Linked DNA regions of Homo sapiens: all the other regions are linked to region 7. The links are contacts of gene promoters, found by promoter capture Hi-C in blood cells and fetal thymus (Javierre and others, 2016). All regions are on one chromosome and are shown on one strand. The core of a region is centred on a gene start or on the middle of the fragment in contact, and the rest is flanking DNA. Distances in the headings are between cores, read along the strand shown.

Region 1 (3,504 bases), core at 533-3,032, 1.4 Mb after region 7:
CTCATGCCTGTAATCCTAACACTTTGGGAGGCCAAGGTGGGAGGATCACTTGAAGCCTAGAATTCGAGACCAGCCTGGGCAAGGGAGACCCCATCTCTACAAAAAACAAAAAACCTTAGCCGGTACAATGGTGTGCTCCTGTAGTCCCAGCTACTTGGGAGGCTGAGGTGGGAGGATCACTTGAGTCCTGGAGTTTGAGGGTACAGTGTGCTGTGATCATGCCACTGTTCTCCAGTCTGGACAACAGAGCAAGAACTTGTCTCTCGGGGAAAAGGAAAAGAAAAAGAAAAAAAAAAAGAATAGTAATATAAATCTAGGCCAGATGTCTCTAAACTTGGCAGTGGTGCATTAGGATCACCTGGGGAACTTTTAAAGCTCCTGATGCCCATGTGGCACCCTGTACTAATTAAATCATAACGCCTGGGAGTGGGAGGCAGAGAGGAGCAGTAGTAAAAATTCCCAAATGTTTCTATGTATAGCAAAATTTGGAAACTAAGCTGATGTTCTCAGCCTTAAATGCACATTAGCATCACCTGGGAGGCTGTTGAAACTACTGATGTCAGAATCCATTAAATCATAGCCTCTGATGCTGGTTACCGGGCACTTAGTCTATTTGAAAGCTCCCCAGGTGATTGCAATGTACATGCTGAGTAGAGAACCACAGCACTGGGGGAAAGTTGGTATATAGTTACAAAAGGGATTTTTTTTAATGGGTTCTTTTATGGCTTAAGACCATGAAACTGGTTCTGAGCTTCCTGGTGGCCAAAGTAGATAGAAAAACACAGTCGGTTTTAATAATTTTGGTCATCTGCCATGCAAAAGCTTACCAGTTTCTTGAAAGCAAAAGAGCTTTTCTTCATAGATCTGAAATAAATGTCTAGTTTATTAGTCTTCTCACAGAGGATGTTGATGTCATGGATCACGATTTTATAAACACCCCACAATAAGTGACATATGGCAAGTTTCATATTATAGTTCCTAATAACCATCCCTCAGGGAAAGACAAGGACATGACCCTGAGTGCAGGGCTATAGGCTGTTGCGGTGGGTGTGTGGGAGTAGATGATAAAAGACAGGAAGAGAAACTGCCACACCCCTCTACAGTTTCCAGATAACATAGCCTTACCCAAAGGCGAAGCCTGGAATTGTGTACCTCCAGGATGTGGAAGGCGTGTCCTGTGTAATTAGAAATTATAATTTTCTATCAGCACATTTTAAGAATTATTTATTTATGTATTTATTTATTTAGAGACACAGGGTCTTTCTCTGTCATCCAGGCTGGAGTGCAATGGCACGATCATAGCTCACTGTAACCTTGAACTTCTGGGCTCAAGTGAACCTCTAGTCTTAGCCTCCTGAGTAGCTAGGACTATGGGCCCATGCCACCACACCTGGCAAATTTTTAATTTTTTTTTTTTTTTGTAGGGACAGGGGTCTCTCTATATTGCCCAGGCTGGTCTCGAACTCCTGGCCTCAAATGATCCTCCTGCCTCTGCCTCCCAAAATGCTAGCATTATTATTCAATTACTTTTCTTCCTTTATAATATAAACTGTACAAATTTTACAAAGGTTTGGCTAGTGAGGGTAGGTAGAGAAGCACTGACTCCCATCCATGAGGGTCACAGGCTAGGGCAAGGGCATCTGAGAATGCGTGTGTGTGTGTGTGTGTGTGTGTGAGAGAGAGAGAGAGAAAGACAGAGTGTGCACGTGTACCTTTTGTTTATCAAAAGACTTTAGGGTTGTTTTTTTTTGTTTTTGTTTTTTTTGAGACGGAGTCTCGCTCTGTGGTCCAGGCTGGAGTGCAGTGGCGCAGTCTCGGCTCACTGCAACCTCCGCCTCCCAGGTTCAAGGGATCCTCATGCCTCAGCCTCCCCGAGTAGCTGGGATTACAGGCGCCCGCCACCACGCCTGGGTAATTTTTGTATTTTTAGTAGAGATGGAGTTTCACCACATTGGCCAGCTGGTCTTGAACTACCGATCTTATGATCCGCCCGCCTCAGCCTCCCAAAGTGCTGGGATTACAGGTTTGAGCCACCGTGCCCGGTCTAAAGACTCGAGGTTTGAAAGGGTTGAAAAACCTCAGTATTGAAAGAATGGACAGAAATCTGACTTTTAAATAGTCCTCCATAAATAGTTCTCATTGGGGGTTTTGTGGCCTGTAAGTACTGTGGACTTGACGGCTCAAGACTTCTAGAGAAGGCTTCTGAGTAGGATGTTGACTCCATGGGGCTAAGTCGTCAAAGGAAACCCATTCTACGGCACAGGTTTTAAGCCAGTCATGCTGCAGGAAGGCAAAGGAGAGCTTAAGGTAGCATGGGTGGGCTCTTTTGAAAACGAACTAGCAGGGCGAACAGCAGATATTTAGTTATGTAGCTGGCAACGAGGAATATGATTCCTTCGGGTCACGCGAGTTCTCTCTGAACTTCCTTGAATGAAAATCCTAAATGCATCCTGGTAATACCCAAGTAGGCACTTTGACGTTTCCTTTTCAAAGGCAAATGGAATGTTCTGCGTCTGTTTTCTTTTTGAACTCCCAACTGCACTTAACATCTAAATTTAAGGAAAGGCTTCCGAAAAAGTCGACTGACGAATTTCTTTCACTTATTTAAAGTAGTCTCTTGCAGTCCTATAAATCGGAAGGATTAAATGAACTGCTTGCTAGAGAAACGGTAGCTGGGTGGTGGGAAGAATCCTACGGTGGCTAATAAGACGTCTCGATCATTTGCATATGCAAAGGATAACCTTAAGCTTGAGTTTGATATTTCACGTTGCGGCTCACAAATGAACTGCTTTTTATTCAAAGAACCATGCTGTCTGTTTTCGCGTGGGTGGGTGTGTAACCGGGGCGGGCGCTATGTTGGTTTTGTTCCCTGCAAGGTTGACACAGGCAATGGCGACTTGCGGCCACACTGGGGCAGCCTCTCCTCGGCTGGCAGCCGGGCCGGGCGGCTCGCTCCCGGGAGCTGACAATGTAGCCAAGTCCTGCTCGTCGGGGCCGCAAAGAATTTAAAGGGGTCTAGAAACATCCATCTTTTCCCCTTTTCACAGTTAACAGCGAGCTCAGGGCTCTCGGTAAAAAGACCACCGGGAGGAAGAAACGCTCAGGGCGTTTTTGTTATTGTTCGCAAAATCCTCTATCGCCCCCAAACGTCCAGCCCGCCCCCTCCCTAAAGCGGAGGGAAACCGGGAGAGGAGGGAGGGTCGGCGGCGCCGGCCAAGCGCGCCAGTACACGCCCCTGCGGATCCGCCCCGCGGCCGGGTGACCCCCGCCGCGCCGCGCTGGAGGCCCCGGGCCGGGGTGGGCGTGGGGCTGAACTCCGCCACCCCCGCAGCCCGCGGCCCGCTCGCCAGCCCGGCCTGTGATTGGCTTGGGGGGCGCGTGTGCCCGCCCCGGCGAACGGGGAGGGTACCCTCGCGGCGCCGGTGGGAGGAGGCGGAGGAGGGGGCGGAGAGAGCGGGGGCCCGGACGGCGCTAGCGAGGAGGCGGGCGAGCCGGGTCCCCGGG
Region 2 (3,713 bases), core at 702-3,201, 1.4 Mb before region 7:
AGATTCACGATGGAAGTTGGTTCAATTGTGCCCAGACGTCAAAGCTAGCTATCTGATGAGTCGCTGTGCCATAGCTTGATCTATGTTTCTATCAAATATGGTAAGTATAAACTTCATTCATACTGGCCAGAGAAATACTGCACTACCCCTCCTCAAAAAAGTGCAACTTAATGCTTTAGGACTTATAAGGCTTGTTATAATGCTGCATGATGATTGAATATTGGCATTTTTCAGACGAAGGAGGAGGCAGTTAAGTCATCTACATTTTAGTAAACCCATTTTGAAAAAAAAAATCAAGAAAGCAACAAAATCAATCAGCTCTGTCACACTACTTGCAATTTTCTCATTTGACGGTTTTTGAACTTTACTTGTTTTTTTTGTTTTTGTTTTTTTCCAAAAATCTGACCATGTATTCAGAAACGCCTCACTGCACACTACTTCGGCTACACAGGTAGGTAACACTTTAATCATTTTGTTAAATCACAGCCACTTTGATTATGTTATGTTTCCGATGATATAAACATTGGAAGGCACAGTGGTAACATTGTAGCATTCTAACCTTGTACCTCTGAAAATCCCAGAATAGGTTCACAAACGCAACATTACAATTCAGACAAACTCTTTTTGCCATGTCTTGGTAATGCTGCTTGTAATATCTACACATGATGTGACTTTTAAGTCCTGTGTTCCCAAAAGACTGGAGAAACAACTTTCTACTTATTTATGAATGAGAAGCAACATCAGGGTCAGCATTTCATCCTGCACTACCCCTCTGGAAGCAGAGTTGGCACTACAGGTTACGATAACAAACCAGGGAAAGGGACAGAAATAAGACCAAAAAAAAAAAAATCCATATTTACAGTAAAATCTTTCTTTTAAAAAAGTTAATCAGTACTATTTTTTTACAGGAGAAAAAAGTCTGAAACAAATGAACAAAAGCTTACCATAGTCACTAAATTTTTAATATATATTTATATATATATTTATATATATATTTGTCATAGGTCTATAAGATCCATCTGTTCCTCCTACCCTAAGGAATGGCTAATGTCATCACTTCGTTGTCATCAGGACGTTTGCTGGTTTTGTTACTAGGGCAGCCGAGCTTCCCCTAATTCAATATCCAGTAATTATAAACACTAGCTGACTTGAATACCAACAAAAACGTTCATGTAGTTTTCTTCAGAAGTACACTTTTTCATTATTGCAAGTTTACAATTTTTTTTAAATTAAATATTTTTTTTTCAGACTTACAAATTAATTATATTTTTTTTTTCCAAAAGAAGTTTAGGCACAAATGCATTGTTCCACAGTGTGGAAAGATTGCCGTTCAGTCTCTGGGCTGTGTCTCAGCCTGTACATACTGCTTTGCACATTCTGAATGATATGTTAAAGAAAGTCGTCCCTCAAGTTGCACTTTTTTCTTTCTTTTTTTTGTTTTTCTGTTTTTTGATAATTGGGAATGCTGAAACCTCTTGCGTCTGCGATTCATAACTACTCAGACTTGTCTTATATTACAAAAATGGGGGTTAAGGAGAAGTGTTTATGTGGGTTTAAGATAATACAGCTGTTAAGGAAGTGGTCTCTTGTTTTAATGAAGCAATGTGGCAACTTGGACCTGAGAAAGGAAAAAAGAGAGAAAAAATTCATTAATATATTTGTAACAGAAAAAGTATGCTTTTTTTAAAAAAAATTCTTTTTCCATGAAAGAAAATATCTGTCAATTTGGGTGAAATTCACTTTTATGGCTGATACACTGATGAGAGTTTTGAATGATCGATCTCAGAAATGGCTGAAAACAAACTTGCCCTTTTACATCTGTCCCATGTGATTCGATGCGTCTCCCATTCCAGGGTGTGGGCCGGCCAAGGAGAGAGGGGGAGGCTCTGAGGACACCTTCTCTTCCTCCCTTCTTTTCAGACACGCAGCTTTCGGATTCAGATTCCTTTCTGTGGAGGATTAAAGCACAGAACCTTTGTTTAATGCTGAGGCTTCTGGCAGAGGGCAGCAATGCACTCTTCTTGCGTGTCTGACCTTTTTCTCAGTGTTTATATTACAGAACAAAAGGAACAGTTACTAAGTACTGTGGCAATCCATTTGGTCAGTCACTAGTAAAAGGTGAACTGCATGTGAGTGTGTACAGCCACTTTACAGTAAGCAAAGGTTGGTAAAGCAAATAAACTAAGCTCAAATTACTGAAAGGATATAGGGAAAGTTGCAATATAATCTTAGTTATAAGAGAATCCCACAACTTAATTACAGGAGAAAGGGATGCTGCCTTATGGATTTAGACACAGTCTGCAATGGAAACAATTCTTTGGAATGATGCTTGAAAGTCTACTGTCTGCCACTGCTCAAGACTGGCGTGCCCATCTCAGCTTGTGCCTGCCACAAGCTCCTCACGAGCTCTGCAAGGAGGCTGGCCTGCACTGACCTCGGACTTGCTGCTCCAGACTGAGGATGACGGCCACCGCCTGGTGGAGGATCAGGAGCTTGGTCTGGGGCTTGTCACTCTTGAGGTGGAGCTGCACCATGCGGCCGAGCTCTTTGAAAGCCTCGTTGATGTCACGGACCCGCAGACGCTCTCGGGCATTGTTGGCCATCCTCCGCTCCTTCTCACGCTCTGCCTTCTGCTCTGGTGTCAGGTCCTCATCGTCATTATTGCTGTGGGACAAAAGGGATGCAACATTTTCTAATGGTGTGGGGAAAAAGAAGGTGTCTACATTACTTTGTTTTCTTCCAGAGTTTTCAGGGAACTTTTCCATCTTATGCCATGTTTTTGGCAGAATTTTTATATCCACTTGACCTTGGGATTGGTTTAGATGGCTTTGACAGTTCACAATACACAAGATATTTGGTTTTCTCGCAGACATTAAACCCAAACCAAACAGGTGAGGGTGACGTAGATTAAAGTTAGAGTGCAGGGTGTGCCCATACTGATACAGGGGGGCAGAAAGGGAAAACAAAGCTTTTTTTATTCAATGGGGTTACACTCTGCAAAGCAGGCATTCACCAACTTACGCCTAGCATATGTTGCATAACCACGCTTCAAAAAGACTTTATGTTTATACTTTATTTTTTAAATATATATAAAACCTTTCATACCGTGACATCTGAAATCTAGGGGAAACAAGTAATTGAAAAATGATTTTGATAGGTCAAAAAAATACAAGGCAGCTTAACAGGAGTAAGAAGAAAGGCCTATATGTAAGACACCAGAGCAATGGGAGTGAAGACAGTGAGGCTTTTATTCAGGTGTCCCCATTACCTTGCTTTGAAGGCCTGGTCAACCCACTATGTGAGTCTCATTTTCTCTATGTATTAAACAAAAAGTTACAAAAACATGACTTCCATGGTCTTTAATCTTATAGATGTTTATGATCCACAGAACAAGTTTGGGAAACCTGAACTGATATCAGTCATGCAAAACGATTCAACAAACCAAACACCTGCAGCTTATGAATGACCATGACCTCATTGTGAGTCAAAAATGAAGCCAGAAAGCTGGGTGCAGTGGCTCATGCCTATAACCCCAGCCTGGACGATATAGTGAGACCTCGTCTCTACAAAAAATAAAAAAAAATTAGCTGGGCACAGTGATGCACACCTGCGGTCTCAGCTACTCAGGAGGCTGAGGTGGGAGGCTCACTTGAATCTAGGAGGTGGAGGCTACAGTGAGATGTGATCAGGCCACTGCACTCCAGCCTGGGCAA
Region 3 (3,738 bases), core at 423-2,922, 1.8 Mb before region 7:
ATTTTCACATTGTTTGAAACAAAGCAGTGAATAAAGAAGGGTCATCTCCCTCTTCTTTCTTTTCTTTTTTTCTTTCTTTCTTTTTTTTTTTTTTGAGATGGAGTTTCTGTTGCCCAGGCTGGAGTGCAATGGCACGATCTCAGCTCATTGCAATCTCCCTCCCCGGGGTTCAAGCGATTCTCCCACCTCAGCCTCCCAAGTAGCTGGGATTACAGGCATGTGCCACCACTCCAGGCTAATTTTTGTATTTTTAGTAGAGGTAGGGTTTCACCATATTGGCTAGGCTGGTCTTGAACTCCTGACCTCAGGTGATCCGCCTGCCTTGGCCTCCCAAAGTGCTGGGATTACAGGTGTGTACAACTGCACCCGGCCATGAATCCCTCTTCTTTCTACATGAAAGAAAATAGCCTTCAAAATGGAAGGTCTAGACAACACCAAAAGAAAATTAAAATCAAAGAAAGCTGAGAAGTTATTGTGACTGCAAATAACTTCTTTAAATGAGAAAGACTAATGGCAGAAGTTGTCAAGAGGACCTCTGTGAGGAAAGGGCATTTCAGTTGAGACCTAAAGGTTGCCTGGTTGCTAGTCAGGTGAAGGGGTTGAGAAAGAACAAACCAGACAGTGCAAAAGGATTTGCTGAATTCTTAACCTGGGAAAGAGCTTGGAGCGTTCAAGAAACTGAGAAAAGGAGTTTGGAGAATGGAAAGCAGGTGGCAGAGAGAGGCACAAAGTGAGTCTGGAGGCACCAATGGGGAAGAGTCATTGCAGAAACTAGACAAGACCAATGAAGATCAGGAAGTGCAGCAACCTAAAACTTACTTGTCAGAGCTGTTATAGAGATGACTTCTACTGGGAGGTTGAACTAAACAACCCTCAAGCTCTCATCCAAAGCTATAATCCTACAAATACAAGAACACAATTTGTTTAATATTTGATAATGTGTTCTAGATTTTTTAAATTAAGAATTGATAGTGAAAGTATAGTTATAAAATATAAAACAGATCAAAGCAAATTAAGTAGTAGCTGCCATATAAAGCAAATGTTTAATATCCAGAAAAGCAGGAAAAACGTTTCTAGGTAGCTACAGCTGTATTCAAGGATACCAAGACCCACTCACATAATTTTGGGAACAGTTTCATAGAAAGGAGATATAGACTTCATATATTGGTGGGATTTAAATCAAACCAGTAGGAAGTCTATTATTAGTCAAATATTGCTAGTGTTGAGTGGTGTATAACTATAGACAGGGCATTCAGTCTCCTTAAGGATCTTGATTTTCTCCTGTGTAAAATAAAAGGTAAGGGTTGATTATTTTAACATCCCTACTGTTCAGCTCTAGACTTGGGCAACACATAATTCTTGTTTGATGTTTACTTCCTTCCTTCTTTTTTCCTTTTCTTCCTTCCATTTATGTGTCTATCCCTCTAGATAGATGATAGGTAGAGATAGATAAATAGATAGATAACCTTAGATCTACCTAAGATTATCTTTGTTATACATAAATCTGTGTGCATAAGTGTATATATATGTGTGTGTGTGTGTGTGCATGTATGTAAACATGGAAGAAGAGATAGAAACATATGAACTCTATAATAGAGGGAAAATTTCATTTTAAAACGTTTAGGGAAAAAGCATAAGACTTTATTTTAGTCCTCTTTCTGGCTTCGTTCTAGCACATAAATTTATTTTCAATCATATTGAACTTGGGGTCAACTTAATCTGTTTTCTTCTTGTTTCTCTCCTTAACTTGCTCAGAAAAAAAAATGAGATTATGTATTAAATCTGACCTGAGGGATATACCAGAACAATAATAATTAGTAAAAGCAAAATCAGCTTGTATTATATTTGCCCAATCTAACTTAGGCAAGGTAATCAGAGCCTGAGAAGTTCATTAAATGAATTATTCAGTTCTTATGGTCTATTATTCAAAATATATTATTTTCATAAACAAAATGGACTGTTGATAAGTGTTCCTGTACATATATAAATATTAAAAATACAAAATGAAATTAGATTTTTCAGAGGGAAAGAGAAACTAGTCATGTCTTAGTGCCTTTGAAAAAGTAGACACGTTTTCTAATATTAAGAGGTGCCACATATTGACTCAGGTGCCTCCTTGGAGTAACTTAAGCCTCTAATTTTCTGGAACTTTCTCCCAAATGCTGCAAAATATAGGAGCAATGCAACCTGTTTGCAAATTTATTAATTCTTTAAGCGAACTAAAGATAGATATCACAGCTAACTGTATGGAAACTGTAATTCCCAGTCCCTATATCTATCCCTTTCTCACTCAATCTTTGATCTTAATCTTCCTAAGGTTTGTAATACCTATTCTCAAATACTGCCTCTCAAGGTTTGGAAGTAAACGCTTCTATTAGGAAGAACCTAGGAAACAACACTGCAAAACATACGTTACAGGAAAAAATTGCTGTAACGAAAATATTCTCATATTTATAACCGAGGGTTAAAACGTAATAAAACAGACTTAAATAAATAGGCCATCATGTTTGAAAAGTCTATTCTTTAATCTTCAGTTGGAAGCAAGATGCTAGTTGATGAAGCCTGCATAGCAGTAATAGTAATAAGATGAAATGAGCAACTTTGGGTTTGCTTTTCTCGTGTAAAGTCACTAGGCCATCATCAGATGCTACTTATTTTGAAATTGGCCTATACAATCTCCCCAGATCTCCTTTGCTGTATTTTATTTTTTCACTTACCTACTAGGAAAACCAAGAAGACAAAAGTAAAATGCACCCAGCAAGTACTCATTAGTATTGTTTCTGAACACGCTTAATTTGGGTGCCCTCAGGAATGTACGTACTTGATGAGAATTTATGCATCTGTGATTACAGAGCAGCTTATATTTAGATAAAGGTGAGGAGGAGATGAAAAATGGATAAAGACAGAACATACTGATCACTAGGTGCAGGTACACCAACCTGCAGGCTTTGTGTCCTTTGTAGACTTGGAGAAACCTTGCTGGGCATCTGTTTCCTGTGCAAGCTCTGAGGAAGTCATAAAATTCTACATTGCGGTTTTCTTTGGAAAGTGATTAAATGATAATAACTGAGTTGCTTTGAAGATGAATTTCCCTCAAATTATATTGTTATTCTGCTTCCCAGCAGATCTTCTTATCAAGTGTATTTTCCATGGTTCTGATTCCTTACAGTTTTCACCCTTTCAAAGTTCACTTTGACTTTTAAGGTAGACTTATGCATGAGGCCAGGGACCCAGAAACCAGTTTCCCATTCTTCAGTTCTAGATGGTGTTAGATTCTAGTGATTTTAGTAAAACAAAGCCTTCAAGGTCTAAGTAGTCCAGAGCAGTGAGGTTGATTCTTAAAATCAATATCGTAAATATTGAGACACATGAAGGTATAAGCTTGGCAACTTGAGAACAGAGAACTAACTCAAAATAGAAAAGGAACAATTAAAATTCATAAATATTAACTATATGTTTAAAGAAAGATGTTCTGTTTGCATTGCAATATTTTATAACCAGTAGAATATTTTTGACTTATTTTTCAGGAATCATGTTTTCTAAAAGTGTGTAGACATTAAAATCGGAGGATTTAAACATAAAACTGCTTTCTAATTGGTGTTTTCCACAGTAAACATGCATTGTGCATAGTCACTTGATCCAAAAGATGAAAATAAGAAATCCAAGAATTAATGACATGCTTCAAGGAGCAAAATTTCTGCCTGTTGTAGGACATTATAAACATTAGGAAAAATGTTA
Region 4 (3,640 bases), core at 198-2,697, 1.4 Mb before region 7:
CATGCAGGAAATAACAAACGCAAGTAACTCCACTATAAATTACAGTAAGGTAAGGTTTCCATCAGGTACAGATGTGATTTAGGTTTTGTTGCTGTTGTTTTGTTTTTTTAATAAGCCACCTGTCTCCTTACCAAAGAGCAGAGACATGAACCAAGGAAGGCTTTCTGGAAGCATTTATATTGGAAAGACAATGAGTCTCTTAAACGGACCCCTGAAAAGTGAAATTATTTACTGACATAATTCTACAAATTATAGTTATTCAATTTGAAGCCACAGGTCATACGAATGTATTATACTTTGAAGTCAAACATCCCTTCTACCCCACACAATTATTTCACAATTTATTTACAAAATTATAGTTTTCTCTAAACATCCCAATGGCATGTACTTTAAAGAGGGAATTTGGAAAGCCTGAAATTCCTGCAGGAAATGATCCATTTAAATAGTCTATATTTGATGACTATCTAGTCTATATTCATATTCATGACTATATTAACTGAGTTTTTTTCATCTGAGACGTTTTATTGGAATACATTATTCTGCCGTTGGGTGTCTTCTGCAGAGCTAAGAAAAGTGTAAGAAATACATTTTCCATATGCCTGTATATTTTAAAAAGATAATCTAATTTTTAAGAAAAGGTTTGGATGTAAACGACTATACTGTTATCTGGTAATTTGTCTCTCCCACCCTTTGTATTTGTCTGTTATAGGAATGTTAAAGCTTTGGGATTTGGGGGGAAGTGAGTTTCCACCTACAAAATCAGGAAGTACAAGGGGGGAATCATTCTTATAAACTGTTATATGATGAAATGGGATTTGAAATACACTACCTGAGAGAGATGGAGGAGAGCCAACAGGAGTTGAAGGGTTTGATGAAAAGCTGTTGTTAGTGTGATCTGGAGAATAGATCTTAAAACAATAAGGAGAAAAAAAAAACACCCTCATTCATTAAAATAATTCACACTTTTCTAAACTACGAAGTTGTCAACGCAATTCATTTAGAACTTACAAGTTACAGCATACATGTAATAATCAACTACAGTACCAAAATTGTCAAATGAAGAACTTAACAATTATTTTAATTTTTCAAAACAAGAATTACTGATGTGGTATGGGATGGTGGGAAAAGAGCCAGGCTGGGGTCAGCAGACTTCAAACCAACTCTTCGTTCCTACTGGCTGTGTGGCTATGGGCAAGCCAAGCAGATACTTTGAACTTTCCTTTCCTCATCTACACAATGAGAGGTTGAACAGGATCATTCCTAAGATATTTTGCCACTCTTTTGCCAGATCTAGGCGTTTGATTGCATAGCATCAGAAGGCCCAGATGAAACAAAAACTTTTACTTAGGGCACAATGCTAATACAGTGTGAACTTTTTTAATGCTCTCAATGGTAAAAGCCAACTGAAGAGACAAAATCTTAGAGAAAGAAATCTCCACTTACATTTATTTATTTATTTGATGGAGTCTTGCTCTGTCACCCAAGTTGGAGTGCAGTGGCATGATCTCAGCTCACTGCAACCTCTACCTCCCAGGTTCAAGCGATTCTCCTGCCTCAGTCTCCGGAGTAGCTGGGATTACAGGCATGTGCCACCCATGCCTAGTTAATTTTCATGTTTTTAGTAGTGACAGGGCTTCACCGTGTTGGCCAGGCTAGTCTTGAACTCCTGACCTCAAGTGATCCTCCCACCTCGGCCTCCCAAAGTGCTGAGATTACCAGTGTGAGCCACACTACCTGGCCCTCCACTTACATTTCTAAATGACCATGTTTAGCTTTTGACTAAAATACCAGATATACTCTCTGAGACAATGAAGGTATGCCATTTTGTCATCAGGGAACATGCAAGAAATGTTCAATTTTAGCTTTCTGGCAGTAGGTGGGCAAAGCAGAGAAGCTGAGTCCCCCAGGTGCCAATTATGTGACAGTTCTTCATGGACCTCAGTTATTGTCTTTTTTTTTTTTTTTTTTTTTCAAATGCCTCTTTCAAAGTGTTTTAGAACTATTCCTTGCTAAGACAGTCTTAGCTGGTCAATGTGCACCCATATTACTTTAGAGAAAAATAAGACATCAGTATAAAAAACCTATAAACCCAAAGACCAGGAGAATATTCCCACATCCATAATTGAGTGCAGCTTAGTACCATTTTGAGGATGAGAGAAAGAGACTATATACTGGAAGCTTCAGAGCCTTCTCAAATTTTCCAGTGACTGTTATGCAAGAAAGCTAGCATTTTCCAAAAATCAAAGCTATTTGCCATTCATTTTCTAAAATTCCAAATGTCCACTTCTGATTAAAGTTCACCCTTTACAATGGTACATATGGAGTCCAAAGTCAATATTTCCTCACCGAAGCAAGTGCTTTCCCCAGAGCATCTCCAGTCTGGGAGCTGCCGGCTGCCCCGCTTCCTCTATTTGCTGCAAAAACAAAAGGCAGAATATGAAAACCAGGCAGTGAGACGTCTAACAATTTTCTATTCCTGGTCCATTTACTCACAATTTAATTGCATTTTTAATGCTAATTACAACACATTAATCTTTAATTAGCATTAATTTGTTTGCTGAGGTAGATGTCAAATATATTCATGTTACTTTTTTACAGATAAAATATAAACCTGACACCTTGGTTTAAAGATAAAGTGGTTTCCTTGCTATGACTTTCCCCTTGCTGTTGATGAGCTGGTGAATGTAGCAAGCTATGTGACGGTCATTGCTGACAAGTATAGACTACTTTCAGGTCTCTGGAGTCCTCAGAGTCTGGCTTTTCTTTATATTATTTTATAGTAAATGGAATTATCTTCACAAATAACTTCCATCTGTTTTCAAATAAATAGAAATTTGATACATAGCAAAACGGGGTATTCGTCTCACAGTCCTACAGTACACCAAACAAACAAACAAAAATTTCCACAACAGGTCTGGCTAACAAGGAGAGAAAATATTTTTAATGTTTTAAATAACATATATTCTCCACATATTTAAAAGTCTGTGTTCACACTAAAAAAAGTGAACTGGTATGCTACTAAAAGTCAATATGGCCTCGAATTCCAGAGATAAAGTAAGTCTACATATTCATGAAGCTTATCTCTACTGCCTTAAACACTGGTATTTTTATCTACAAAAGAGAAGAACAAAGAGTATTGTGAATAATAAAAGACATATATTACAGTATACAATTCAAAGCCAGCTTTCTTTAACATGTATCATTGGAAGGTATCTTGCCTTTAGAACTAAGTGATAAAATGGGATTTCCAGGATTCTTGTGGTCTTCAGTATTAACAGAATGCCTAGCACTTGGGGTATGTTGTATTTACTAAAGCCTCAACATTAGCAAATAGACATAGTATCTAAATAAAACCTATTAAAGTTCTGAGGGAAGATTGTTTTTCACTATTTTGTGAAATAAGAAAAGGAAAGGTTAAATCACCCAATGAATCCAAGCAAAACTTCATTAAACAGGTATATAATTTCAAAGACTTTCCAGCCCCATTCTTGAACTAAGAGAGCCTTCTTTCTTACAAATGTGTTGTCATCACCTTCCACACTTGTAAAATGCAGTAGTGGGGTCGGATCTTCAGTGGTCCAATTCTATGGCTTTTCCAGGTCATAATTTAATTCTCCTGACCTCTGCTTAGCATAGCTAA
Region 5 (3,550 bases), core at 1,051-3,550, 1.4 Mb before region 7:
GAAGTCTTCTAACTGTTTTTTCTATGAAAACCAACTAAAAAGTTAAATTGTTCCTAAACTTTGGGGTGAAAAGTACTTGAGAAATTACAAAGTTGACAAGTTTTAAAAGCATGTAAAGAAGTATTAATTTTAAAAAATCTCAGATTGAAAATGTTTAATTTCATTTTTAACATATACAATAAATAGAATTAAAGTTGGAATTATAATTATATTACGGCATGCAGAGAAGATGAATCTCAAATATATAGTTCTTAGGATATTTTATTTTTATTTTTTGGTGTATAGGTATATAGCTATCTTAAACCTTCAGTAGCAATCCAAAGGGTACAAACATGCCCTAGGTAGCTATTATATTACAGATATTTTTGAGAGTCTCTGGATTTTATAAAACGATTTATGAATTATAGAGGTTTAAAATTATATAAAGTATCTTTCAACATAAGGTTAACCTTTTGTTAACATTCTTATTAAAAACATCCCTACGGATTTTTTCATTCTCTGGGCCTATTGGCCTACAGGTTATTATTAATGATTGCTAATGTTTAGGTTTGGTTTCCCAAGCCTAAGGGAAAAGATGATCTACATTACTGCTAAATTCATTCATTTTTTCTTTGTTTCAATAGTTTAACAAAAAGTATTGAGTACTAGGTATACACTAGGCCATCAGCTGGCTGTTAAATGTATAGCAGATATTGCTTCCTTGAAAATAAGATTATTTTCACCATAACATTTTATATAGTAAAGGCCTATTAAAAAGTTAGGCAATAGAAAAGTTAAATCTGACACTGTATTTCGTGAAGCTCTTTTTCATTGAGTTCTTAAATCCGGAAGTTAGAATTTTGTAACTGGACTCATTTCATATTGGGAGGAATAGTTTGCAGATTCCTCTCTTTAAGAACCATGCAAGCAAAATCATGTCTGTGATTTTGACAACTTCAGAGTTTTAACTAGAAGATGGAAATTGAAGTTACAAATAAGAGGCCACAGTAGTGAGTTTACAATATGCCCCAGACAGTTTCTGAACATCTTTCACCTTAATTGCATATTCCTTCAAGTCTTGAATTCTCAGGGCACCAAGTACCCCTCTACTGAAAGGAAGCTGATGTGGGACAGGACCATGATGCAACTGTTTCTGTGGCCATCATGTGAAAACACATGATTTTTTTTAAAGTTATCATTCATGTACTTGAGCTTTAGTCCTTAGATTACAGAGGTTTAAATGTCACCTTAAATTCAAATATGAAGTTCAAGATCACTAACATTTTAAATAGATGGCACATATGACAAATAAATTGAAAACATATATCACTAAACAAGAGTCTCCTGACAATGTGATACCCTGGGTGGCAATGCGTTTAGGACTGTTAACACAGAGTACTCTGCTTGATGCAGACTTATAAAAATACATATTTTACATAAATTATGCTTTTCACAGTAAATTAATATTTATCACATCCCATGATCTTGGCATAATGTTCTTTTGAAAGAAAGAATAGAATTAGATGTGTGCAAATTAATTGTGCTCATCAAAAATGTCAACTCAATTTTTTTTTTTTTTTTTTGCTTTTCGGGTATGCATATGCAGATAAACAAATTTGTTCCCCATATTTTGTGTGGTCTGCTAGGGAAAGGAGCCTACTGATATAATCTACCTGGCCTCTCCTGCAATGTGCACCCTTCCAGAAAGCCACTTTCCTGGGCAGATAGAAAAAATATATCCTTCCGTCAATGTTTTCAATCGAAATCTGTTTTGAGTGATGGATCCTTGAGTTGCCAATCTCTGTAAGCTCCTGTAGGACAATATCTCCCACTGCTCACAAAACAGGGGACTGATGCTGAGGTAGCTACTGTTTATAACTGAAGGTGATTAGCTTTTTGTCACGGCACAAAACGCACCCAGGTGACATAGCCTGCTGTGTCCCTTTGAGTTACACCTAGGACGGGTCACAAAGTTAAAGGACTTCTGACACACGGGCTCTATTATGCGTGGAACAAATTCTCTCTATTCCTAACAGAGCCATTCCATCCAATTTTATAGATTTCCATGGAATTTCACACGTGAACTAACAAACTAAAAGAGCTAACACACTGAAGGGAAGGAAGATTAGTATCTTTTAATGAGAATGATTTTGAGTGTGTCCACTATATCAGGCTGCTTCCCTGGTACTCTTTGCCCCAAATGTGCTCCCCTTCCTGTGACATGGCCCTTCCTAGAGATGCATAAAGAAGGAAACCCCATGGCCCGTAGACAAGGCTTATACAAATAAGGTTTTCACACCTGGGCAAAAAGAGTTAACATTTTGCACACAGGGGTTCTTGGTAAATTCCACATCTAAATTCAGGGCATTAACTTGGTAACAAGATAATTACATTAGAAAATAAGTGCCACACACATATCAGGATGGAGCCCTTAGGGGCATCCTCCAAGTGGTTCATTCTTGAAGTAGCTGCTATCATTTCAAACATCTTGGTCTTTTTAAAAAATTCATTTATTTATTTGTTTGTTTATTTATTTATTTATTTATTTTGAGATGGAGTCTCGCTCTGTTGCCCAGGCTGGAGTGCAGTGGTGCAATCTCAGCTCACTGTAAGCTCTGCCTCCCAGGTTCATGCCATTCTTCTGCCTCAGCCTCCCGAGTAGCTGGGACTACAGGTGCCCACCACCACGCCTGGCTAATTTTTTGTATTTTTAGTACAGACAGGGTTTCACCATATTGGCCAGGATGGTCTTGATATCCTGACCTTGTGATTTGCCTGCCTTGGCCTCCCAAGTGTTGGGATTACAGGCGTGAGCCACCGCACTCGGCCACATCTTGGTCTTTTTTGAGCAGCAGAAAGGTATACGCTATCAGTAGCAAGACTACAAGCTCAGGGTGGGGGCACACATCCATGTATTTAAACATACTGGACAATTCCATAATTTCCTATATTTGTCTTCTCCCCCAAAAGTTGGGCCTTTTATCCTAAACCAGTTACTATGTTGGGACAGAGCTTTCACCATGTAATATTCCAGTCTGTGGTAGGTTACTTCATCTTGGACCCTTGTTCTTACCTACAAATTAGTAAGTGGGTGAAAATTTTACATAAGGTTATACATTAGGCCAACTTGTTCCCAGTTGGCTAAATCCAGGATGTTCAAAACATACATGGAGCTGAACCACTTCTAAACAAACAGCTACATCGTCTTGGGGATGGTGAAGATGCTGAAATGGTTGGTCATGAGTGGAAGACCATCATAAGCATCGGCTCTAAGTGAAGCAGATCAATCTAATCTTAACCCATTACTGCTTAAAGGGGTTTAATTGTAAAGAAAGACTTAGTACAGTTTTAATTAATACATCAATTTTTAAGGAATTCAATTCCTAAGAAGAGCATGACTTCAAAAATTCTACACTTGCCTACTATTCCATTTCTTCTGCCCCATCTGTGACATTAAGTGACCCAGGAAAATGCTATCCAGTGGCCTTTCCCTCAGAAGCAGCAGCATCTTACCTTGCATGAAGAAGGAGCTAGGGAAAGTGCTGGTTGCTGGTTTGGAGGAAGGATAGCC
Region 6 (3,853 bases), core at 838-3,337, 1.4 Mb before region 7:
TGAATTATCCAGGTCGTATCCCCCGATAAATACTACGGACTCCTTAGGAGCAAAGATTGTGGTTTAGAGCACATCCAATACAATGGGTTGCCCAAAGCAAGCACCCAATAAATAGGAAACAAGGAAGACAGCCAAAGTAGAAGAGAACCAGTCCTTTCCTTCACTTACAAAGTTTAAGCAGCAGAATTTTAGTGTTGAAGGGAAGTATACATCATGCACCCTTTTTCAGAAAAACTGTCCTTTGAATCGTAAGTGGCTTCCATAGGTGTTGTGCGTGGGGTGAACTTCTGGCCTTGTACCAGGAAGAAGATATCATATGGAGATGACCCAGATGTGAAAGGTATCACGCTGCAATTCCACAGTTGTCCAGCACTGGGTGTGCAGAATTTCTCAAGAAACTCATCGATGTAGAATTTACGAATATCTCTGACTTGCTATATTTATCTACACCTCAGTTTCTGCATCCAGATTTTCTTTTTATTTTACTTTTATTATTGTAGGGACAGGGTCTCACTATGTTGCCCAGGCTGGTCTCAAACTCCTGGCCTCAGAGAATCCTCCTGCCTTGGCCTGTGTCCGGATTTTTAAAATAACAGTTGCAAGAAATTATAACAAACCAAGAGTCAGTTTATGACTTTAATCTTCCTCCCAAAATTCGGAAACATAATCAGAAGTCACAGGCAAGTTAAGACTATGCATCATCTTTGATGGTGTTTCCTATTTCCACTGGATGGAGAATCAAAAACAGGTTGGACTGACTTATAAGGAGGCACAATCCAGAATGCAAACCTCAAGCGCACTGACTGCTTGAAAAACTCTCCCATTTCACCTGCCCCCTAATTCTTTCTGTTCTTCATCCCGTTGGCCTACACTGCTCATTTTGCCCTTTGCATGTGTTGTACCATGTGTTGCTGTCTTCTGTTTTATATTTATGATCTGTTTTCTGAAATCTCCCAGGCTGCAGGTGTGTCATTCCTTACCTGGTCACTCTCTATGTCTGGTAGATAAGATAATTGATGCTCATTTTCCGGTGATGAGGACGATGATGATGACGATGATGGAAAATTATCTTGCAATGCCTGTTCTCCACTTCTTTACCTTCCTTCCACACTCACTACTTCAATGAAACTGCTCAAGACCTCCTGGATGCTGCAGCCAAATGTCACTTCTATCTTTCAGCAACATCTGACACTGTTGACAATTTCCTCCTTCTGGTCAGATCTGCCTCCCTTGGCTTCTCTGACTCTAAGTTTTCCAGGTCCTCCTATCCGTCTTGACTTTTAAATTCAATTACTTCTCAGGCATACCCATTTGAAAGGCTCCTCGTCACATTCATGATAAAATCTCAACTCCTTAATAGGGCTCACAAGTCGCTTTTTGATCAGGCCACTGTTTACCTTTTCAGTCTCATCTTTTATGTTATCCTTTTGTACCATAAGCTTCTGGCATTCTGAACTACTTCTGGGTCACCGGATATGCCATGCTCACCCCTGCTTCCAGTTATAACCCTTGCATTTTGCCAGCTTAATTCCCATTCATCCTTGCACTTCACTTCCTCTAAGGCCAAATGTGGACTAGTTGTCCTTTGTATATCTACCTTAAGGAGCCTGTACACCCCAATCAATGCATTATCAGTCTAGGTTTTAATAGTCTGTTTGCCTATCTCATGCTTGTCTTGTTCAGGGTTATATTCTAACAGCTCACTCATAGTAGGCATTTGATAAATATTAGCTGAATTACTTTATTCTGTCAAACTTCTTGCCACCATCTGAGTGAAGGAGTTAGGAAAAGTACATTAAAGTGTTTTTTTTTTTTTTAAACAACCAAAATAACTCCTCCTGAAATAGGAAAGATGAAATCTACTGCCTCTCTGTAACTCTCTGAAACTGATAATCTCAGGCGATAGTGCTAGTCCAAAGAACAGATACAGGATTTCATCCAAGTGCATGTCAATGACTTACCATCAGTGGAAGAAGCCTGAAGCTCTGGCTATTTTTGTTCCTTAAATTCCCTGTGTTCTGCTCCTGTACTTAAAGCCAGATGCAGAGGAATCCCAGGATTTAGAATCTCTCATGTTAGCTCTCTTGAGTGCAATGTGGGAAAGAGAATGAAAACTTCCACTGCTTAGAAGTCTGCAGAGCTCAGGGATAAAAATGAGCAGGAACTCAAGTCATGGTGTAAGGGTGAGAGTCTATGATCGGGCTTCTACTATATGGCTAAGAGAGGGCGTCCTTCATCTTCATCATGTTTTACCTGCAGTGGTTTTTGGCTTCAATTTAATAGCAATATTGTCTTTGGAGCCAGTTTCTTAAAAATGATACGTTTCTTCTGTTATATGCCAGCCACATCAAAGAGGGCCACATCAGTGTGACTGCTCCTAAGGTGAAATAATCTGTGGTGTTTTCTAAAATGGTCTGAGGTGAACAAACCAGGTAAGAAAATGCTAAGATTTGCATTTCCTTGAAATGCAATGTTATTTTTGAGCTCCTAATTGAAAAAATTTAAACTGCATATAATTAAGTGTGGGGGAGTGCACCAAGGTGGCTCACATTTAGGCACATGGTAAACTGATTTGCCGTTGAACTAGAAGGCTAATATTAGGAATGGGTGAGCCAAGCCATGCTTTGTGTTTGTTCAATGTCTCATACTATTTTTCAAACGTCATGGGCTCAGCAAAACCCAAAACACATTTTCTCAGCACTTCTCTCTATTTTTCAACCCATATGTATTTCGAGAGAAGCTTAATTCATATGTTTCTGATTTCTTTACATGCAAGTCATCAGAATGTTGTTTTGTAGGAACTATTTGATGTCCAGAAAGCCTGTTGAGTCTTTTCTTTGAGGTTTTTTTTTTTTTTTTTTTTTTTATCCCTTAGGATCAGGAAGCCATGATTTCCAAATAGAAAAAAAAAAAAAAAGGAAAGAAAGAGTAAAAACACTCATCAGAATCCCCAATATTTTTTCCTCAAAGGTTCAAATTTTGTTTAACAGAGCGCATAGAGTCTGAGTATAATTCTTTCATTGGCAGGCTTGTATCATACTGTATTTTCCTGCTCCTCATTGACACTGCCTTTCTTGAAGTTAGTAATGTCTTCCTTGTGGATACAAAAGTACAAATTTGCAATGTATGAATAACAAGAATAGATCTTAAAGGGAGGTGGTGAGCTAGCTCTTCACACACTAAGTGAATGCATTCTGTAACGTGCTGTCAGGGCTGAGGGAGAGGGTCTGGGTATTAAGAGAGAGGAAAGTAGTTAGCTCCTCTCCAAGAGAGTCCTGTGAAAATAAGCACAATTTTTCACTCCATTAGGCATTGTGCTGGCATCCTCTTTCCTCAATTTATAACTGTAACTCTCTGATTCAAGTGTGGTCTGATGGTTGTTTGCGTGCATTACAAATTATAATATAATTTTATAAATATTTCTCCATTTGTGAATAACTACAAACAAAAAACAAAAACAACAAAAAAAGAAGCAAACAAAAAAAAAACTAGCAATTTTTAGGACTTCCAAGGACAGTTTGAGTATCCCTACATTGAAACTTTTGGCAAAAGTGGTATCCCTTTTTTAAAAAATAAGGTTTAAGACACTATATATTACATGTAGGAGGGCTTTTATCTTTTAACATCATTGATGTCTATCTAAATTTGATCATTTTAAAAGTTGTCTTGAATGTAGTAATATTTTAGAAGACTGAATCAGATTTTAATAGTAGTGGACAGTCTTTTTTTTAAAGGTGCTGTATATAAAAAAGATTGGCTCCTCTGCAAGCTTTCCTAAATTTCAATCTGCAAACCAAATTGATGTTGGGCACGAAGCATCCAGTCGGTATCTAACACTATCTCATGCCTCTGA
Region 7 (3,906 bases), core at 631-3,130:
CGAGGAAGGAGGATTGCGTGAACCCAGGAGGTGGATGTTGCAGTGAGCTGAGATGGTGCCATTGTACTCCAGCCTGGGTGACAGGGCAAGACTCCATCTCAAAAAATATATATATATATGCCTCTAAAATGGTGAAATTCCCGATTTTATCCTGTGGGTCTCATTTATGATTCTTTTGCAGTGATAACCATACATTTTTGGTTACAACAACAATGACGACATCTCACTTGTCTCCTTGCTTCCCTGTATTTCCCACCTGATTTACATGGCACATTGCTGCCAAATTAATATTTGTGGCTGGCCCATCTTAAGTGACCCCGATAAGTCACACTCTTGTATAATCCTTTCTCCTTGAGTACAGATAAAACCCGTGACTTACTTTAACCAATAATATATGGCAAAGGTGATGGCTGTCACTCCCTAATTTAGGTTATCATCTACATCCATTTCCATATCTATGTCCATGTCCATATCCATGGCTGTATCTATATCTGTGTGACTCCTTTCTTGTGCTCAGTAGAGAGATTCTCCTTGCTAGCTTTGAAGGAGTATGCTGCCATGTTGCGAGAGAGCCTTTAGTAAGGCCCATGTGGTAAGGAACTGTGGGTGGCTGCTAGGACCTGATGGCCACTTCCAGTTCAGAGCCAGTAAGAAGCCAGGGCCCCTAGTCAGACAGCCACAAGGAACTGAATGAGCTGACAGGAGTTTGGAATCAGATTCTTCCCTAGTTGAGCCTCCAGATGAGAATTGCAGTTTGGCTGACATCCACTTGTAGCCTTGTGAGAGCATGAGCACAGGACTCAGCTAACCTGTTCCTGACCTCCTTGCCCATGGAATGTGAGGCAATACATATGTGTTGCTTTAAGCCACTAAGACACTAAGACTGTGATAATTTGTTGTAAAGCAATTTTAAAAACCTGAATACCATGTGGTTAGGAAAAGTGCTACACTATTTATTAGTCAAAAGTCTTCAATTACTTTTCATTGTCTTTGGAATAAAGACCAAAAAGCTTATATGGCCACTAAAAGCCTCTTGTTATCTACATTATTCTATTTTTCCATGTTACTTTTTTATTACCTGGTCTAGGCCGAATGTGATGAAGTCTCTATCAACCCACAAGAGAGCTCCAGGGCATAGACTGCCTGTTAAAGGAGCCGCTCACGGAGCAGAAACAGCTAAGCCCTGATACCACATTTTCCCACTTCACCTACTTCACGTCCCTTGTATTTCTTCCAAATTTAACTTTCTATTTATTGCATATATTCATGTTTTACATTTCAATGCTGGTGACAAAGTTGTTTTCCTTTCCCAATTATTATTCCAAATCTGACCAATTTTTCTAGACTTCCATATGACCTAATGTGATTATCCTTCCTTACCCCAACCTAGAAATAATTCATCTCTTTTCTTCCTTGCTCCTTATTTGGCATTTCTCATCCTGCACTATACTATAGCTTATCTATCTTGGGGGACATTTGTCATTCTTTTTAGCTTTCCAGCATCCAACATACTTTCCAGTGTTTAGGGAATTCCCTACCTCTTGCATCTCAGTGGGAAGCAGTGTGATGGGGTCAGAAGTGTAAACTTGCGCAACATCCTGCTCCCAAGAAAGACGTGCACTTGCTACTTCATCCTTCGCTCCATCTTGGTCCTCCCAACTGGAGAGAGGACAGCCTAGACGAGACTTCCCACAACCAAGATGGCGGCCGTGCACTCCTTGCCCACAGCTGGCCTTTTCTCCACTTTCGGTCTCCATCGTAACGCGGCTGGCTCTCTCGGCGCCGGCTTAGGCCTTGCAAGTAGGGAAATGGTGAGTCTTTCCCGCCCCCTCATTTTTGCGACAGTTGCAGCGAAAGTCACGGCAGTTGGGGCTGGTGTCAGCTGATTTACTGCAGTGGCGGCGGCGGCGGCACCGGCACCTTGCAGTATCACTGGGGAGACGGCGGCTGTATAGCGCTTGCCGCCCCACGGATTATCCCAGCAGGATCTACGCACCCCGCATCCTCCGTAGTTCCGCCCTATCCTTGTCCTCCTTGGCTGGGGCGCCCACCGGCGGTCTGATAGGCTACATCGCGGCATGAGATGAAGCTGTGACAGGTAAGGGGGCTTTCAAGCTTCTCCATGGGAAACCACAGGGCGGGATGTTCCTGCACCGTGGAGGTCAGGGGTCAGGGGTCAAAGGTCACAAACCCGCTCTAGCCGGGGGCGGTGCTAGCTGTCAGATCGCTGCGGCTGCAAGCCTGCAGGTCGGGCCCAAAAGTAGGCGCCGTTACCAAGAGCGTGGGGGCCAGCCGGGGGTCTTTGTGGCTCCCTTGCCTGGTGAGTGATATTTGCTACTTGTGACAGTTGCTTTGGTCTTGAGGTGGGACTGCCTGGTTCCCAGGTGCAATCTAAACGGGATCAGGTGATTGGTGATGATCGTTGGTGGTTATTGACAGCAATTTTGGGCGATGTGCTTGCTTTTGGGGTTCATATAGTCTTTCCTTTCCTGTTGGTACTATTTTTGCCCATGCCCAAGGTACTGACACCACTGTTAGAATTTCATTTTTGAGATGCCATCTGCCAGTTCTTATCCCTTTGCCCTAGTACTTGTCTGAGCGGATGCCAGTCACTCCCATTCACTTAGTGATGGGTCCCAGCGTTCTGAAGCTATGTTTGAAGTCAGCACTACCCTAACTTTGATTCAAAAATTGCTGTTTTATGTTTTTTACCCACTTAGTATGTCACTTTTTGAGGCAGAATTTGCTGGGTTAGATAGTCTGAAACTAGGGAACCTACCGTCGCATGACAGGCTGCATTGATATTGTTGATGCTGCTGAATTTAGGGTTCGGTCAGTGGCAGCTATAGCTTCCTCTCACTGTAATATTTGCCATGAGACAAAAAAAGGCAAACTGACTCTTTCAGGTGTTTATGTCTTAGGATTTTATGGGCAAGGTTGCAGGAATTGCCTGTTGTATGAAAGAAATTAACTGAGTTTTTGACATTTTGTAAAACAAAAATTTTAGTTTGACTCTGCTTCTTGCTTTATAAACAAACTCGTGGCTGTATGAAGGTCAGCTTAAAAGTGAACATAATGTGTTGAAATGCCCTCATTATTACAAAGAATAAAAAACTGTCTAGTTCCATCCAGAACAATACATATTAGTTATTATAAATTGGGAAAACGAACCACTATAAATATAATTAATGCTTTATTATTAATGTCAATTAGGGATTATGGTAGAAAATTCATTTATTTTACTGCCAATCCTTATTTTAAGAGTGTTTCAGAGAAATACTTTAAGAGAAAAATGAGAGTATGCCCTTTATTTTTTCTTATTGCCACCTGTAACTAAATTTTAAAAGATCTCGGTGACTGGGTGAATCAAAGGGACTGGGCTTGGCTTGGTTTGAATATCCCTGTAAGAATTTAACTTAAATTTTAGGGGTAGTGACCCTTGTATCTTACAGTTTCCTTTTATCTTTGATATATGTTCCGTTTTGAAGTTAAAGGAAGTTGGGTGGTTTCTCCATGTAACACACTTAGCATCGAAAATCTTCAAAGTAGTGAGCTTGTTTTGTGTTTTCTTCGTGAGAGGGGTAGGATGACATTTAGCTTTAGTGGTGTGATGTTTATTAGATGTATGAGTCCTTAAAGTTCATTTTGGACCTCAGGTGCAGAGGATGGAGTTAATCTTACTCAATTCAATGGGCTGTTCAAGGCATCTCCCCTGCCTGCATTTTTCGTTCTTCTTTTTTTTTTTTAGATGGAGTTTCGCTCTTATTGCCCAGGCTGGAGTGCAGTGGCGTGATCTCAGCTCACTGCAACCTCCCCATCCCGGGCTCAAGCGATTCTCCTGCCTCAGCCTCCTGACTAGCTTGGGATTACAGACTGTGCCACCATGCCTGGCTAATTTTTGTATTT

What was found. The method cuts DNA at HindIII sites, captures the fragments that hold promoters and counts their contacts. A CHiCAGO score of 5 or more calls a contact.
Region 1: a fragment that was not itself captured here is called in contact with the fragment with the promoter of WDR7 in region 7 in 2 of 17 cell types (total CD8 T cells and naive CD8 T cells); the score reaches 6.3 in total CD8 T cells.
Region 2: a fragment that was not itself captured here is called in contact with the fragment with the promoter of WDR7 in region 7 in 1 of 17 cell types (monocytes); the score reaches 7.0 in monocytes.
Region 3: a contact is called between a fragment that was not itself captured here and the fragment with the promoter of WDR7 in region 7, in 1 of 17 cell types (erythroblasts). The highest score is 5.6, in erythroblasts.
Region 4: a contact is called between a fragment that was not itself captured here and the fragment with the promoter of WDR7 in region 7, in 2 of 17 cell types (M0 macrophages and naive B cells). The highest score is 6.3, in M0 macrophages.
Region 5: a fragment that was not itself captured here is called in contact with the fragment with the promoter of WDR7 in region 7 in 1 of 17 cell types (total B cells); the score reaches 5.5 in total B cells.
Region 6: a contact is called between a fragment that was not itself captured here and the fragment with the promoter of WDR7 in region 7, in 3 of 17 cell types (naive B cells, total B cells and monocytes). The highest score is 7.1, in naive B cells.

What each region holds. Positions count from the first base shown.
Region 1 is chr18:58,040,777-58,044,280 of GRCh38, forward strand. It overlaps NEDD4L (NEDD4 like E3 ubiquitin protein ligase), which reads left to right and starts at 3,450. Exons shown (of 31, transcript NM_001144967.3): 1 at 3,450-3,504. RefSeq lists a cis regulatory region at 843-1,255 and a silencer at 3,145-3,504. The HindIII fragment of the contact is 1,925 bases long and covers 821-2,745 here.
Region 2 is chr18:55,226,413-55,230,125 of GRCh38, forward strand. It overlaps TCF4 (transcription factor 4), which reads right to left. Exons shown (of 20, transcript NM_001083962.2): 18 at 2,435-2,664; 19 at 1,809-1,949; 20 at 1-1,618. The coding sequence ends at 1,813. Among named protein-coding and RNA genes, the nearest start is that of LINC01929, 100 kb to the left of the region's middle. The HindIII fragment of the contact is 2,029 bases long and covers 938-2,966 here.
Region 3 is chr18:54,833,155-54,836,892 of GRCh38, forward strand. All of the region lies in intron 1 of RAB27B (RAB27B, member RAS oncogene family), which reads left to right. Among named protein-coding and RNA genes, the nearest start is that of RAB27B, 6.5 kb to the left of the region's middle. The HindIII fragment of the contact is 3,414 bases long and covers 1-3,379 here.
Region 4 is chr18:55,259,120-55,262,759 of GRCh38, forward strand. It overlaps TCF4 (transcription factor 4), which reads right to left. Exons shown (of 20, transcript NM_001083962.2): 12 at 2,347-2,414; 13 at 830-908. Among named protein-coding and RNA genes, the nearest start is that of LINC01929, 140 kb to the left of the region's middle. The HindIII fragment of the contact is 1,458 bases long and covers 719-2,176 here.
Region 5 is chr18:55,276,059-55,279,608 of GRCh38, forward strand. TCF4 (transcription factor 4) reads right to left here. Exons shown (of 20, transcript NM_001083962.2): 9 at 3,493-3,550. Among named protein-coding and RNA genes, the nearest start is that of LINC01929, 150 kb to the left of the region's middle. The HindIII fragment of the contact is 8,285 bases long and covers 1-3,550 here.
Region 6 is chr18:55,294,305-55,298,157 of GRCh38, forward strand. The region is part of intron 8 of TCF4 (transcription factor 4); the gene reads right to left. Among named protein-coding and RNA genes, the nearest start is that of TCF4-AS1, 160 kb to the right of the region's middle. The HindIII fragment of the contact is 1,301 bases long and covers 1,438-2,738 here.
Region 7 is chr18:56,649,479-56,653,384 of GRCh38, forward strand. WDR7 (WD repeat domain 7) reads left to right here and starts at 1,881. Exons shown (of 28, transcript NM_015285.3): 1 at 1,881-2,098. RefSeq lists an enhancer at 1,612-2,001. The HindIII fragment of the contact is 1,105 bases long and covers 1,009-2,113 here.